Regions from separate parts of the Homo sapiens genome. Here regions 1, 2, 3 and 4 are each linked to region 5. Evidence: promoter capture Hi-C in 16 types of primary human blood cells and fetal thymus (Javierre and others, 2016). All regions are on one chromosome and are shown on one strand. Each heading gives the region's core, a stretch centred on a gene start or on the middle of the fragment in contact. The rest is flanking DNA. Distances are from core to core; before and after follow the strand shown.

Region 1 (2,731 bases), core at 30-2,529, 660 kb before region 5:
AGAGAGGGCAGCTTCTCCCCAGGACTCAAGGATCCTACACTTGGTGGATCTCAGAAAGAGGAGTGTGTTCAGCTTGCGCCCTTCACCCGGGTGTCCCTCTGTCCAGGTTGGTGAGCAGGGTAGAAGGGCGGCTCTCCCGGGGGTTGCTTGCGACCCACCGCCTGCCTACCTGCTTTAGGGCCACCTGTTGCACCCAGCCTCCGCCCTGGGGCCACAGCCTCAACCGCAGATCCCTGAAGGTGCCTGCCAGAGCCTGCCGGGGCTCCCGCCTCAGGAGACAGTACAGCACAGGGTTGAGGCAGCTATTGCTGTGTGCCAAGCAAGTAGTGACAGGGAAGACATACGTCTGGATAGTATAGAAAGTACTGTTCCAGGGCACCAGGTCAAACTTCACCAGGACACCCCAGAGAGTGACCACATGGTTGGGAAACCAGCAGAGGAAGAAGGAAGCCACCAGGATGCGGACAGAGCGGGCCACGACCCTGCTGTCCTGCCGCCGCCGTTGCCGCCGCTGCAGGAAGGCCAGCAGCAGCAGGTAGCTGGTGGTGATGACGCCCAAGGGCACCATGAAAGCCAGCACCACCCTCTGCAGCTGGTAGGCCCCCAGCCAGTACCTGCTGGGGAAACGCAGCAGGCAAAGGCGCACACCACACACCTCACCCTCCACCCCGAAGACAGCTGTGGGCACCGTCACCAGGGCAGCCGCCGCCCACACTGCCAGGGTGGCTATTCGGGCCCAGAAGAGTGAGAGGTGGGTGCCTGGCCCCGCAGCCATGGCCACCACCCAGTAGCGAGCAACGCTCAGCGCTGTGATGAGGAAGATGCTGGCATAGACGTTGAGGACAGTGGCCGTCAGAACCATCTTGCAGAGGGCACCTCCGAAGGGCCAGTGAAAGTCCAGTGCCGACTCGGCTGCCCAAAAGGGGAGAGTGAGTGCCAGTCCCAGGTCCGCCAGAGCCAGGTTGAAGACGAAGGTGTCTGAAGGTGGGCCAGGGGCTCTCCGGGCACAGTTACTCAGTACCCACAGCACCGCCAAATTTCCCAGCAAGCCAATGGCCCCCACAAGCCCATAGGCCAGGGCAACCATGAGCCTCAGGGCTAGGAATTTGACAGGCATCGGAGCATCATCAGCACTCAGCACACTGCCTCCGGAGGCATTGGCCCAGAAGAATGTGGGTGGAGAGGCAGAAGTATTGAGTGTGGGCATCGCAGGGCATCAGAGATTGGTGGTGCTGAGAAGAGAGGTCTGCAAGTGTCTGCCAGACTGGCAGAGGCCACTGAAGGCTCTAGGAAGGAGGCTGTAGAATTAAGTGCTTCTCTGGGGCCTCTGGTGAGCCCTGGCCCACGCCCACACCTCAGAGGGAGGGGTGTGGAAAGGACAACCCACCACCTTCCTGTTGGTCAAGATTGGTGGTAGGTGGGGCAGGGCGAGGCACAGCCTGAATGCCAGGGTATATGTGCATGCGCCCGCCTGTAAGAGGGGCTCTAAATGGCAGAGAGGGAGGGGAGAAGGGAGAGTTACCCCGCTATGGAGGGCAGCCCCAAGCCTCCACCCCAGGGAGAGAGCTGGAGGTTCCCTGTCCCAGAGATGACAGGAACCAAACTAGAGCTGCCTCTGTTCCTAACAGTGCAGAGGCCTCCCTCCTCTGCAGAAAGTGTTCCCTTGGGGCCCAAAGCAAGGGGCCTGGGAGGTGGCATAGAGGCAGGGAATCAGCATGGGTGTCCAAGAGAGGAAAGAGCGGAGGCTGCGGAGTCCCAGACCTGCTGCTCACTAGCCGTGTGACTGGGAGAGTTACTTTACTCCCCTAAGCCTGTTTTCTTGCTTAAAATTTTCAGGTAAGTCTGCTTCACAGGAGTGGCATGATGCAATGAGAGAACACATGTGAAATAGCAATTTGTATGAATATTATTTCAAAGGAGAAGTTTGGGGTGTTTGTGGCAGAAGGGTACTGAGAGGCTATTACCATGCCCAGGGAACAGTGCCAACTAAAACAGGTTGGAATTCATCTCAGCAGCAGTGACCTTGAGGCTAAGAGCAGGGAGGGAAAAGAGAGAGGAAGTCACAGCTTCCTGTTTCCTCCCCACTGGGAACACTGGGCCTATGAGGGCCTGTGTGGACCTGGGCATGCCCTCAGTTCTGTTCCTGCTCCTGATAATTAAACATTCCTGCTAACCTCTATCGCCGCCTTTCCCCCCTTTCCTGCTCTAGTCTGTGGACAGAGCTCAGCGGTCCCCCTACTCTCTCCTGCAAACCCCATGTCAGAGCTAAGGATCCTGAGATACGCCCTCACCACACCTCATCCTGTCTCCCCATGATCTCAATCATAACTGGAAAAAAAAAATGCTTCATTGGGCCCTCCCCTTTCATTGCCTACATCTCTACCTACTGCAGAAGGAGCTGAGGTGGGGACAAAGAGAAGGCAGGAGGTGGATAGGTAAAAGAGTAAGGCTTTCTCAAGGATTCCAATATATTCAGCCCCTTCTTGCCCTCTGCCAGCTAATTAAGATAACGTTCGATGTTCAGTTCCTTTGGAGTGCTGAGGGAAGAGAGGGGCCCTTTGCGACAATAAATCAGCAGTGGGCTTGTGAACACATAGGAGAAACCCAGAGGTGAGAGTGATACAGGCTGGGTGCCAACATGTTGGGGCTTTCGAACCAGGGATGAGTATAAAGGGGGTGGCAGAAGGGGAGTGCCCAGCCCAAGGTCAGGTGAGCCCCACAGGCTACCTTC
Region 2 (2,730 bases), core at 55-2,554, 700 kb before region 5:
AGCCGGAGGGGCAGTGTGGGGGTAGTGCTGGGGGTGAGGAGCCCAACCAGCTCAGCCAGTGGTGAGGTAGTGGAGCCCAAAAATAGTGGCAGAGGCTAAAATTGGCACCTACAAGAGTGCTGAGTTGGGCTTGAAACCTGCAGCCTGGCCCCACTGCTGAGCCAGGGCAGAGAACTGCTGGATCTGGGTTGGGTCTCCCCTCCCTCCCTTCTTCTCCCACGCCCTTTGGGGCCAGAATCAGGCAGGACCCTGCTAACCGAAGGCTCTGTCCCAGGCCTCTCTGTGCTTCTGGTTTCTCCAGAGAAATGGGAGACCCTGAGAGGCAGAAATGAACTTCACTGTAAGTGATCATAGTTAGACTGGAGGAGGAATTTTCCCAATAGCAGGAAACTCACCCAAAGGCTGGCTCAGGCTGGGGAAAAGGGTCCAGAGAGATGAATGCCCCACCTTACCCTGCTTCTTGGGGAGAGGCTGGTTGGGCCCTAACTTTCTTTGACTAGGGCAGGCTGGTTTCTGGTCTTTCAGTTCCGGCTTAACTTGCAACAGAGAGAACTGCAGTTAGACACATGGAAGGCCTTCGGTAAAAGTGGAGAATCCCAACCTAGTCCCCCAAAGTAGCTGGCAGAGGCGGAGCTAGGAGGAGGGCAGAGTGGGGTCAGGAAGGCCCCAGAAGGGTGGGGCATGTGGGAGAATTCTCTCCTCTCTGTTCTTCGACCTCTGGGAGTGAATCCTACCCTTCCCGTGTACTGAAGATCCAGCGTTTAGTTCTCCTTTGATTTCCTCTCCCTCTGGCCACCCCTGCCCCCAATCGTAAAAGGGGTCAGTCTGCTCAGGCCTGCTTTGATGGGACCCCGAAGGCCAGGAAGGAACTGGTCCTGGGTTTTCTAAGAGCTGGGGGCGGATGGAATTCTCCTGCCTGCGGGTCTTTAAAGACTGAGGTAACGCAGTAGGGGAGGGAAAAAGGGAGGGCGAGGGGAGAAGGGAAGAAGGGGAGGGCAGAGGGGAAAGGGCCAACCTGGGTCCGGCGAGGGCTGCGGGGCTGGGTTTTAGGAAAAGAAGAGCTAAGAGGCGGGTCTCTGGGGCTAGAGGGCGCCCCCAGGCGCTGGAGGGGAAATAGGCAGAGGGGCCTCTCAAACCTGTCCTAGGACCCTCGTACCTCTCCGAGCTGCCCCCACACAAACCCTGGCGTCCCGTCCTGCGCGCGGGCACCCCGCCCTCCCTCCGCTCCGCCTACCCCCTTCCTGAGCTTGGGCGGGGGAGGAGACTCGGGTTTGAGGAACTGGTGCTGGGTGCCGGGCGAGGGGAGTCAGACTTCCTGTCCCCGAGACCAACGCGTGCGGGCCGAACCCCTCCCCCCGCCTTCCCCCAACAATACAGGACGCCGGGGTCCGCGCCGCGTCCTCCCTGGTCCCCCCGTCCGATTATGTCTCGGATCGAATCCCTCACGCGGGCGCGGATCGACCGGAGCAGAGAGCTGGCGAGCAAGGTGGGCTCGGAAACCCCTCTCCTTTCGCCGCGGTCCTCGGGTGCTCCCCGAACCCCGGCACCCGCGGTGCATCTCCTGTCTCCCCGCCTGCTTTCTGGGCGCCAAAATCGGGCGGAGCGGTGGATCGGCGAGCGGCGGGACGGGGTGGGTGGGGACTGCGAGCGAGTGGGTAGGGGTGGGGGGAGCGGCAGACGCGACGGTGCTGGGATCCCGGGAGGGAGCGGAGCGGACCTGGGCTTGGTCGCCTCCAAGCCGGCGGGACCGAGTGCTTTAGGCCGCTTGAAAGAAAGTTGCTCCGGTAAGGGACGGAGCGGGAAGAGGGAGGTGTGTGTCTCGCGGGTGGGGGCGGTGGAAGCTCCGGCACCTCCTCTCACCCCGGGCCCCACCGGCTTGGGCTTGGCGTGGCGACCCCCCATCACTCCCCAATCGCTGGCTTGGTCGTTCCCCCTTTGTCCCCGCCATCCGGCGGAGGGGACGGGAGGGGGTGGTTTCCCGGCTTCCTCCCACCACCACCACCACCCCTCCAAGACAAAAGTCAGCTCCTCCTCTCCTCGCAAATGGACTTTCCAGCTGTGATTCAGTTCTCCCCTCTGGGTGGGCGGGTGGCTGGGGTCGGGACGGCCGAGGGACGGCTTACTTCCCCCAAACCATCACCTCTAGGTGAAGGGAGCAGAGGTCTTTGTGTAGCTGGGCTCCTTTCCTCCATCCTGAGCCCTTCTGCCTGGAACATAGGGCCTCCATCCCTATCTGCCCCGCCAGCCTCCTAGCTCTTCCTTCTCCCAACCTGAAACCCTTAGGCTGACACACCTGGCACTATGCATTGTGTTCCCTGCCCTTCCTCCTCCTCCCCCAGCGCTCTCATTCTCTTATCTGCTCGTCTTGGGGTCCCTTCACCTAGCATTTCATGAGTCTGGGTGTATAATTATCCACACGCCTCCCCCATCATGACCTCTTGGCCACTCCTCTCCAAGTACCCTTTATCCCTGCCTTTGTACCCAGCCCCATTCCCAAGTGCCCTGACCTTTCCACACCCAGACCCCAGGAAATGATGAAGCTGACTTGCAGGTGAATAAGTCAGAGCTGAAAGGAAGGTGGTGCCTGCAGACAGCACCTCCCAGCTCCTTTGGGGCCCCCGCACTGTACCCATTATCAGAAAGGACAGGTCCCAGCCCAGAGTTGGTTTAATCTCTGGCTTCTCTCCAACCTGAGTGCCCTACTACCCTGGTGCCAGCCTATGCTGATCA
Region 3 (2,700 bases), core at 201-2,700, 580 kb before region 5:
AAAGCTGTTTAAAAAAAAAAAAAAAAACAACTAATGAAAAGTGCCAAAGTTAATCAGTGTTGAATTTTTTTCATGAACCTCAAGTGCTTAGGGTTTCGTATGAGAGAGGCCAAACCGAAAGATCTGTGTATTCTGTAGGTCAAAGAACAACACACATGAAACTCCGAGCTTCTGGAGTCTTCCTTGGTATTTGGGAGAGTTGGTGTGATTCAGGTTAGTCAGACTACTGCCATGTTTGCATAAATTTCAACCTTCATTTTGGCTGTGGATAATTTCATCCGTTGGATTCTGTTTACAGATAGGATTAGTTCAAATGTATAAATTTGTGTTGGTGGTTTACCTGTAAAATGAGGGGGTTGAAAGTATTTTTCCACCTTTTGACATTCTGTTTTTTATTATTTTTTTAATCTCCGTGGATTCCAGACATTGTTTTTCTAGAAAAGTGGAAATAACATCATTTTAGAAGTCATTCATTCATTCGCTCATTCAAAAAGCACGTATTGAATTATTGAACATCTGTTACACCCCAGGCAGCCTCCTGGACACTGGGTCAATGCATTATTAGCTAGAGTTAGGAGACTTAATACCTGATTCTCCTTGATAGCTGTCTGTGTACCGTTGTGAAATCACCTACTCAGATGAGCCAGAACTTTGTCCTGTGCAAACTGGAATATGATATAATAATCTTACAGTCTATTGTGGAGACCAAGTCACCTAAGAAAATGTGAGAGCATTTTGTAAAATGCAGAATATTGTACATATATGAATAATTACTATAGCCTGAGTCCAAGAGTGCCTTAGTTTTAATCAGGAGCCTGCACTATTTGTAATTTAGAGACTTCTTTTTCTGGCATTTTATGACTTCTTCAGTCCCTTGGTCCTGTGTTCCAGGTGACTCGTAGTGAGAAAAATTAGTTGTTAATCTTTTTTTTTTTTTGATACAGAGTCTCACTGTCGCTCAGGTTGGAGTGCAGTGGCACGATGCCGGCTCACTGCCACCTCCGTCTCCCGGGTTCAAGCGATTCTCCTGCCTCAGCCTCCGGAGTAGCTGGGATTACAGGCGTGCGCCACCACGCCCAGCTAATTTTGTATATTTAGTAGAGACGGGGTTTCACCATGTTAGCCAGGGTGATCTCGAACTCCCGACCTCAGGTAATCCGCCCGCCTCCGTCTCCCAAGGTGCCGGGATTACAGGCGTGAGCCACCGCGCCTGGCCCCCAAATTAGCTGTTAATCTAAACCACTGAATCTTAACCTCAGTTTTGAGTAGGATAACTCCATGGGCAGAGAAAGCTAAGTAGTGCCTTTAAATTTTTTTGCCAATAACTGACGCACTAACGTTGTGGCTTCACTCTGCCCTAAAATGGGATGGCGCATAGTGTTAGGCGCATGCTCCTTGATGCACTGCGGCGCGGCGCTCCGAGGCTCGGGGACGCGCACGCAATTCGCTGTTGTTGGCTGACTTCCGGTGGTGCCAAAGCCGTTTCCGTGGAATCAGGCCGGCTGGTGAGGGTACAGGTTTGTGTGTGGTGGGGTGGGAAGAGGCAGGTGGGAGCTGGGACACCTGGACGAACGATGTCCAGGTTGAGAAGGTCGGGTCTGAGGGTGGGCGCTGGGTGCGTGGCGGAAGTTAAGGGCGTGAAGTCCAGTGTCTAGTTGGGAATGGGGACTGGAGCCAGCCCTGGGCACCGAGGTGGAAGCGCGGTTAGGACCCCTTTTGAAAATGTTTTCCTAGGAGAGGGCCGTGCCGGGGCTGCCTCCACATTGGCATTCATTCACCCTGCTGGTCCGACTTGGGTTCCCAAAAAAGTGGATTCTGTCGAGCTACTGCTGTGTTTGAGGTGCCTGGAGCTGAAGTAGCTGTCTTTCTTTCCTTCTTTTTCTTTCTTTCTTTTTCTTTTTTTCCCCTTTTTTTGATCTCAGTAATTATCTGTGAAATAAAAGAGCTGCCCTGGCTACTCCCATTCTATTTCTTATAAGGTCACCACCATCTCTCACAGGAATCAACGAAATCTTCATGTTTTATTGAGCTTTAGTTACTGAGTTTTAATTACATCAGTTGATTGAGGGGATGGAGAATCTCCCCTAATGTCTTGGAGAAACAGAAGGGAGGTTTAAAACTAACTGTAGGTCGGGCGCGGTGGCTCACGCCTCTAATCCTAGCACTTTGGGAGGCTGGGGCGGGAGGATCGCTTGAGGCCAGGAGTTTGAGACCAGCCTGGGTAACAAATCGAGACCCCGTCTCTACAAAAAAAAAAAAAGAAAAAAAGTCGTTGAGGGTGGTGGCAAGTGCCTTGTAGTCCTAGCTACTCGGGAGGCCGAGGCCAGAGGGTCACTGGAGCCCAGGAGTCTGAGGCTGCAGTGAACTAGGATCTTGCCACTGCACTCCGGTCTGGGCAACAGAGCGAGACCTTGTCTCTGGAAAGAAAGAGAGAGAGAGAGAAAGAAAGAAAAGAAGAAAGAGAAATCTAACCTTAGACGCTTAGAGTTACAAATAACTTTTATTTTTCAGTTCTCTAGTTCAGGCTTTCATCTAGTACTCTGATAAGTGGACATTCAGGCTTCGCTTGAACATTGCCAGTGATCTAACACAAGGCGGCTTATTCTATTATTGGATCTATTTATGACAGTAAAGTTTTCCTGGGTAATAAGATGCCTTTTTTTTTTTTTTTTTTTTTTTTTTTTGACAGAGTCTCCCTCT
Region 4 (2,700 bases), core at 83-2,582, 630 kb before region 5:
GTGCAATCCTGGCTCACCGCAACCTCCTGGGTTCAAGTGGTTCTCCAGCCTCAGCCTCCTGAGTAGCTGGGATTATAGGCACCTACCACCATGCCCAACTAATTTTTATATTTTTAGTAGAGACAGGGAGTCACCATTTTGGCCAGGCTGGTCTTGAACTCCTGATCCTCAAGTGATCAGCCCACTTCAGCCTCCCAAAGTCCTGGGATTACAGGCGTGAGCCAGCACTCCTGGCCAGAAAGACTTAAATTTTGAGACGGAGTTTTGCTCTGTTGCCAGGCTGGAGTGCAGTGGCACCCTCTCAGCCAGCTAACTGCAACCTCCACCTCCCAGGTTCAAGTGATTCTCCTGCCTCAGCCTCCCGAGTAGCTGGGACTTATAGGCGCATGCCACCACACCCAGCTAATTCTTTTGTATTTTTAGTAGAGACGGTTTTACATGTTGGCCAGGATGGTCTCTTATTTCTTGACCTCATGACTCACCTGCCTCGGCCTCCCAGAGTGCTGGGATTACAGGTGTGAGCCACCGCGCCCGCCCGGCCCAGAAAGACATTTAAAAAGAACAGTGGTAGGCAGAGCTGCATGAGAACAATTTTCGTGTCAGTTTCTTCTAGCACCTGTGCTACGTAAATAGAGGGGAATATGGTTATAGTGGCTGCGCTTCAGTTCTGTATTTAACTCAAGGCCTCTGTTAACTCAGAGCTCTCTTTCCTGCCAGAGTGTGGTACATTTATTTAAAACAAGTTTTTGTGTGTCTTATACGTGTTTAAAATACATACAGAACTCTGATTAGGGAGTGTTGTGAACATCTGGTTTCTGAGAATGAATTTAGGTTTCAATAGCAAAAGTCATTGTGGCCGCTCCTTTAGGAAAGTCATTTTTCTCCTATGAGTAGTCATCCCCGGTAGACTTGACTGAAATCCTGTGTTTTAGGAGGATTTGGGGGGTGCCCCTGTCCTCCCTTCCTCTCATTACATTGGGTCAAATTAGTTTTGGGTTTTTTTTTTTCCCACAAGCAGCAAACAACCCTCGGTAAGTTGTTAATTTAAGTGTCCCTGCATGTCTCTTATCACGTACTCCCTTCCCTTTTGTGTAAATAATTTACTTTCTACTCGTGATTAAATACCCTTGTCTGTGAGTGCATACACCCTAGGTTGGGTAGGTGACCAGAGGACCTTCAGCGGTGGGTCCCGGAACTGGGTTTTAGGGACCTGGGAGGGGCGGGAAGAGGGCGGGGCAGGCTGTGGGCGTCACTGAGTGGCCCCGCCCCTCCTTCCGCGACTCGGGCGCCGGTGGCGCCATCTTACTCGGTTGCGGGAGGGGTCACAGGTCAGTGCCGGAGCCTCCGCGAGTGAAGGAAGACGAAGTGCGTGACCCGACCGGCTGTGGTGTTCCAGTCCCCACTGACCAGTAGGAGCAGCAGGGCGTCGGCTTGTGAGGTAGAGGGGTGGGGAGTCTGGCGGCGGAGCAGCAGCTGGGGGTGGGGAGGGGGTTCGGAGGAGAATGGGGAGGGGGCGGAACCTCTGGGTACCGCAGACGTGAGAGAACCCCTGCGGCCTAAGGGGCCGCATCCCTTTCTTCCCAAAACTTTCTCCTTGTCCCTACTGTGCCGAGACGTAAATTTATTTGTATCTTTTTATTTTTCTCTTTGGAAAAAGTAAAACCTGTGATGTGTCATGTGACTGAACTGTCTAGGAGGGAGGGTGAAGATGGGGGGGTTTCTTAGGGCCACCCGAAAGGGTGCAGTGGTGAGCAAGAGGGACAGGCCAGAGTAAGAGGGACAGGCCAGAATATGTATGGAAAGGTAAGGCACTGGCTTGAGGGCTGTCGCCGTGGTGTCTCCATCCTGGATTAAGCATTTCCTCCTCCTTTTCTAGGTGGCTTTTCCTCGGGGCAACCGAGGAAGGCCCCAAGAGGACAATGGATTCTGGAACTCGCCCAGTTGGTAGCTGCTGTAGCAGCCCCGCTGGGCTCTCACGGGAGTACAAACTAGTGATGCTGGGTGCTGGTGGTGTAGGGAAGAGTGGTAGGTAACATTTTCCATTTGACAGGAAGCATGGATGAAAAGTACTTAAATGACCAGATGGGATACTTGCTATCTTGCAATGTTAATACTTAAAATTCTCTCTGTGGGTCACCTTTGTGAGGATTTGACTTTTATTTCTTCTTTTGAAGCCATGACCATGCAGTTCATCAGCCACCGATTCCCAGAAGATCATGATCCCACCATTGGTAAGCCAGATCATCACTTATGTTTCCAAATATACCCCATAAAAATATCTTAATGAATATCAGTAGTTTCTAACTATTTATATTTTGAGGCTTTTTTGGAGTCTAATTCAGATTTATTTAGAAACAAGGGTATCAGCAGTTGGTAAGCAACTGAATATTTCTTTTTTTTTCAGACTTTATGTCATAAGCCATCTTTAGTCTTTGTCTCTTACTGAACATTAATGGGACAACTCTCTTTGTTGTATTTTTTTATGGTTGTATACAGGCCACTTAACGAAGCCTTTTCTTGCTGTCACTTCTCTAAGGGTATGACTTGAGACTCGCTCTGTAACTGTGAGTCAGCTGGTTTGAACTTCCACAAAAGGAAGCAGAGAAACAAGTAGAGCCAGGCTGCTGAACTCTTACAACCCAGACATGCCAAGCCTGGACATCTTGCACTTGGAGCTCTTGGTTTACTTCCTTATACCTT
Region 5 (2,700 bases), core at 12-2,511:
TCAAGATAATGTCTGGGTCTACAACTGTATTTCGAGGCTCCAGATTCACACCTCTTCCTCTCTGCTTCTTTAGTTCCCCAGGTTAGGTGCTTTGCACACATCCCTGCCTCATCCAAGAGCTGTCCTTCATTTCCCCCAAGGACAGGGCTGCTGTCTTCCCCTAGCGACCTTGATGTAGAGGTACACCCTGACGGAGACTGTGAAATGGCCCCACCCCCACCCTCTGTTCCTTCTCTGGGAGTCACCTGGGTGGTGGTCCTGCCCCTGCTTTGCCGCCTCAGTCACTCTGAGTCTCGGCCCCGCCCCGCCGCCCCCGCCTTCAGCACTAGGGACAGCGACCAGAGCTGAGGTCTGGACCCCCCGCCCCCTTCAGCGTCCCTATTTTTCCTGGTAGTCTGTCATGCTGAACTAGGCAGGTGCTAAGGAGCGGGTGTGGGGATGGGAGATGGCGGAGCTCGGCTTCTCCCTCAGACTGGCCCCGATACTTAGAATATAATTTCCTAGATCTCCAGCAAGCAGGACTGGAGGAGGCAGGGGTCCCAAACTCTGGTAGTTCCTTTGGTCCGGATGGGGTCCCGGGTTCCTGAAAGAGGAAATCCAGGTCTCTGGAGATCCCCTGATGTCTGCTTGCCCCTTCTGGTGCCCCCAGCCTGTCCAGGCACGGAGGACCTCCGGCAGGGGATACCCGCCCAGGAATTCCCAGGCTAGACTGGTGCAAGTGACTCTCCCGCCCCACCAAGGGACCCCGGGCTGGAAATGAAGTGACCGTGGAGGGTGGGGCGGGCCGGGTCCCGGTGTCGCTGCCCGCGAGGGTGGGATTGATGTACCCTGCCCTCCCCGCCAAGCCCCCAATACCGGAAGTCGCTGTAGGGGTGGATGATCCAGGCCCCCGCTGACTTCACCCGCTCCTGCTCGATTTCCACTGCTTTGTGGCTGCCGAACACCCGAAGGGAGAACTTGTTGACCGTAGGCTGGAGCAGCGTCCCAAGGTGCCTCCTCTTAGGCTCAGGCCCAGATTTGGGGATCGGACCTGAGGCCGCGGTCGCAGGCGGGGGAGCAACGGGAGGCACCGCCTCCAGTCCAGGGGTCGCCCCTTCGCTGGCCCCCGCCGCCGGCCGCTGCTCTGCCTCCATGGCGCCCACCCCGCTTACACGCTCGGCCTCCTAGAGCCCTCTGTGGCCATCAGGTACCCGCAACCCCTCCAGAGCAGGAGTCGGCGCAGCCCCGCGGGCTCTAGCGGAGGCGTCGTAGGCTCGGAATCGCCGGCGCGCGGGGCGGAGGGGGTGTGTGCTAGACTGGCGGGCGGCGGGCGGGCTGCGCGGCGCCCCCTGGCGAGGGCCGCGCCAAGACCGGGCGGGGCTGGGACGCCGGGATCCTGGAGGAACTCCGAGAGGGGCGTGGCTTAGCAAAGAAGGCGGGGAGCGCAGCCTGAGCCAGGGAGAGGGCGTGGCCTAGCGTTGGCCTTTCATCCACTGAGAACCAGGGAGGAGGAGCCCCCTGCAGTGGCGGGAAAATCGGACGCGGGTTTGTAGCTTGAAGGACTTGGGAGGGAGAGGGATTGGGGACCAATGGAAGAAGTGGAAATGGCTTTTGGGATTCTTCTCCACTCTCGCCCAGGGACTTCTGTCCTGCTCCCGTCTTCTCTCAACACTGTCCTAGGCATATTCTTGTCTTTTGGTCTCCTCCGAACTGCTTCCCCTAGTATTTAATTTCCTAATTCATTCTGTCAGCCTTCACCAAGTGCAACTCTGCCTGTCATTGAGTGGATGCTGAGGAAACAAAAATGAATACAAAAGTCCTAGTCTTAGCATCTCCATGTAGTAATGGAAAACAACACAAAACAAAACAAAAACAAAGGCCTAGCCATAAAGCCACTGCTCATCTGTGCCCAACGACAGACAGGTAAATTGCAGTGCTATGCGAAGTGCTACAAATTCCTAAATATCTCAAATTCTCCCCTTCATCTCCAATTCTTATTACCACTGCCTCATTTCAAGCCCTCAGCATTTTTTCACTTAAATTACTTCGGAAACCTCTAAAAGAGTCTTCAACCTCTTCCAGGCCAATTCTTCTTCCATTCCCTGCCAGTTACCTTCCTAAAATCCAACTATGGCTGTGTCACTTGCTTGAAGCCCATCAAGCTTTCCCATCTTCTACAGGGGTACATTTAAGCTGCTTAGCATGGTGTACCAGGCCCAAAAAATTTGGACCTAGTTTCAACAGTCTCTCTTCTGACAGTCCCTCTCTTGAAAGCCACAGCCCCAATCATGCTGAAAGACTTTGTGCTGCCTTGTCTCTATGCTTTTGCAAATATTTTCTCTGCCTGGTATTCTCCTCCAATTCACTTTCGAACAGTTGGTTCAGATCTTGCTTTCTCTAGGAAACCTAGGAACACATTTCCAACTCTCCTTTCCTCAGGTAGGGTCTATTCTAGAGCTTTTTTACAGCAGCCAGGGCACCACTGTTTTGAGCAACTCATGTCACAGGGCTACCATTATTATTATTATTTTAGAGATGAGGTCACACTATGTTGCCCAGGCTGGTTTTGAACTCAGAGCTCAAGTGATCTTCCTGCCTTGGCTTCCCAAAGTGCTAGGATTACAGGCATGAGCATGGTCTCATTATTTATTTACAGATTTTCTCTCCTGTTAGATTGTGAAACTCTGAGAAACAGGAACCTTGCACCTGGCATAATTCTGG

The links. The method cuts DNA at HindIII sites, captures the fragments that hold promoters and counts their contacts. A CHiCAGO score of 5 or more calls a contact.
Region 1: a contact is called between the fragment with the promoter of RXFP4 here and the fragment with the promoter of HCN3 in region 5, in 11 of 17 cell types (total B cells, fetal thymus, non-activated CD4 T cells and 8 more). The highest score is 14.0, in total B cells.
Region 2: the fragment with the promoter of ARHGEF2 here is called in contact with the fragment with the promoter of HCN3 in region 5 in 4 of 17 cell types (neutrophils, fetal thymus, naive CD8 T cells and 1 more); the score reaches 7.3 in neutrophils.
Region 3: a contact is called between the fragment with the promoter of GON4L here and the fragment with the promoter of HCN3 in region 5, in 11 of 17 cell types (fetal thymus, non-activated CD4 T cells, naive CD8 T cells and 8 more). The highest score is 17.3, in fetal thymus.
Region 4: the fragment with the promoter of RIT1 here is called in contact with the fragment with the promoter of HCN3 in region 5 in 5 of 17 cell types (monocytes, fetal thymus, activated CD4 T cells and 2 more); the score reaches 8.1 in monocytes.

What each region holds. Positions count from the first base shown.
Region 1 is chr1:155,940,186-155,942,916 of GRCh38, reverse strand. It overlaps RXFP4 (relaxin family peptide/INSL5 receptor 4), which reads right to left and starts at 1,279. Exons shown (of 1, transcript NM_181885.3): 1 at 1-1,279. The coding sequence starts at 1,207. The coding sequence ends at 83. RefSeq lists an enhancer at 726-1,225 and a silencer at 1,545-1,839. The HindIII fragment of the contact is 9,136 bases long and covers 1-2,731 here.
Region 2 is chr1:155,977,121-155,979,850 of GRCh38, reverse strand. It overlaps ARHGEF2 (Rho/Rac guanine nucleotide exchange factor 2), which reads left to right and starts at 1,304. Exons shown (of 22, transcript NM_001162383.2): 1 at 1,304-1,486. The coding sequence starts at 1,424. It overlaps ARHGEF2-AS2 (ARHGEF2 antisense RNA 2), which reads right to left and starts at 1,212. Exons shown (of 3, transcript NR_183460.1): 1 at 1,157-1,212; 2 at 396-531. RefSeq lists enhancers at 110-159, 1-168, 630-699 and silencers at 1,040-1,089, 1,150-1,309. The HindIII fragment of the contact is 25,844 bases long and covers 1-2,730 here.
Region 3 is chr1:155,855,964-155,858,663 of GRCh38, reverse strand. It overlaps GON4L (gon-4 like), which reads left to right and starts at 1,450. Exons shown (of 32, transcript NM_001282860.2): 1 at 1,450-1,517. RefSeq lists enhancers at 497-1,084, 1,371-1,570. The HindIII fragment of the contact is 10,340 bases long and covers 1-2,700 here.
Region 4 is chr1:155,909,981-155,912,680 of GRCh38, reverse strand. RIT1 (Ras like without CAAX 1) reads left to right here and starts at 1,332. Exons shown (of 6, transcript NM_006912.6): 1 at 1,332-1,438; 2 at 1,877-2,025; 3 at 2,175-2,231. The coding sequence starts at 1,920. The HindIII fragment of the contact is 5,298 bases long and covers 1-2,700 here.
Region 5 is chr1:155,276,024-155,278,723 of GRCh38, reverse strand. It overlaps HCN3 (hyperpolarization activated cyclic nucleotide gated potassium channel 3), which reads right to left and starts at 1,261. Exons shown (of 8, transcript NM_020897.3): 1 at 856-1,261. The coding sequence starts at 1,133. The HindIII fragment of the contact is 9,883 bases long and covers 1-2,143 here.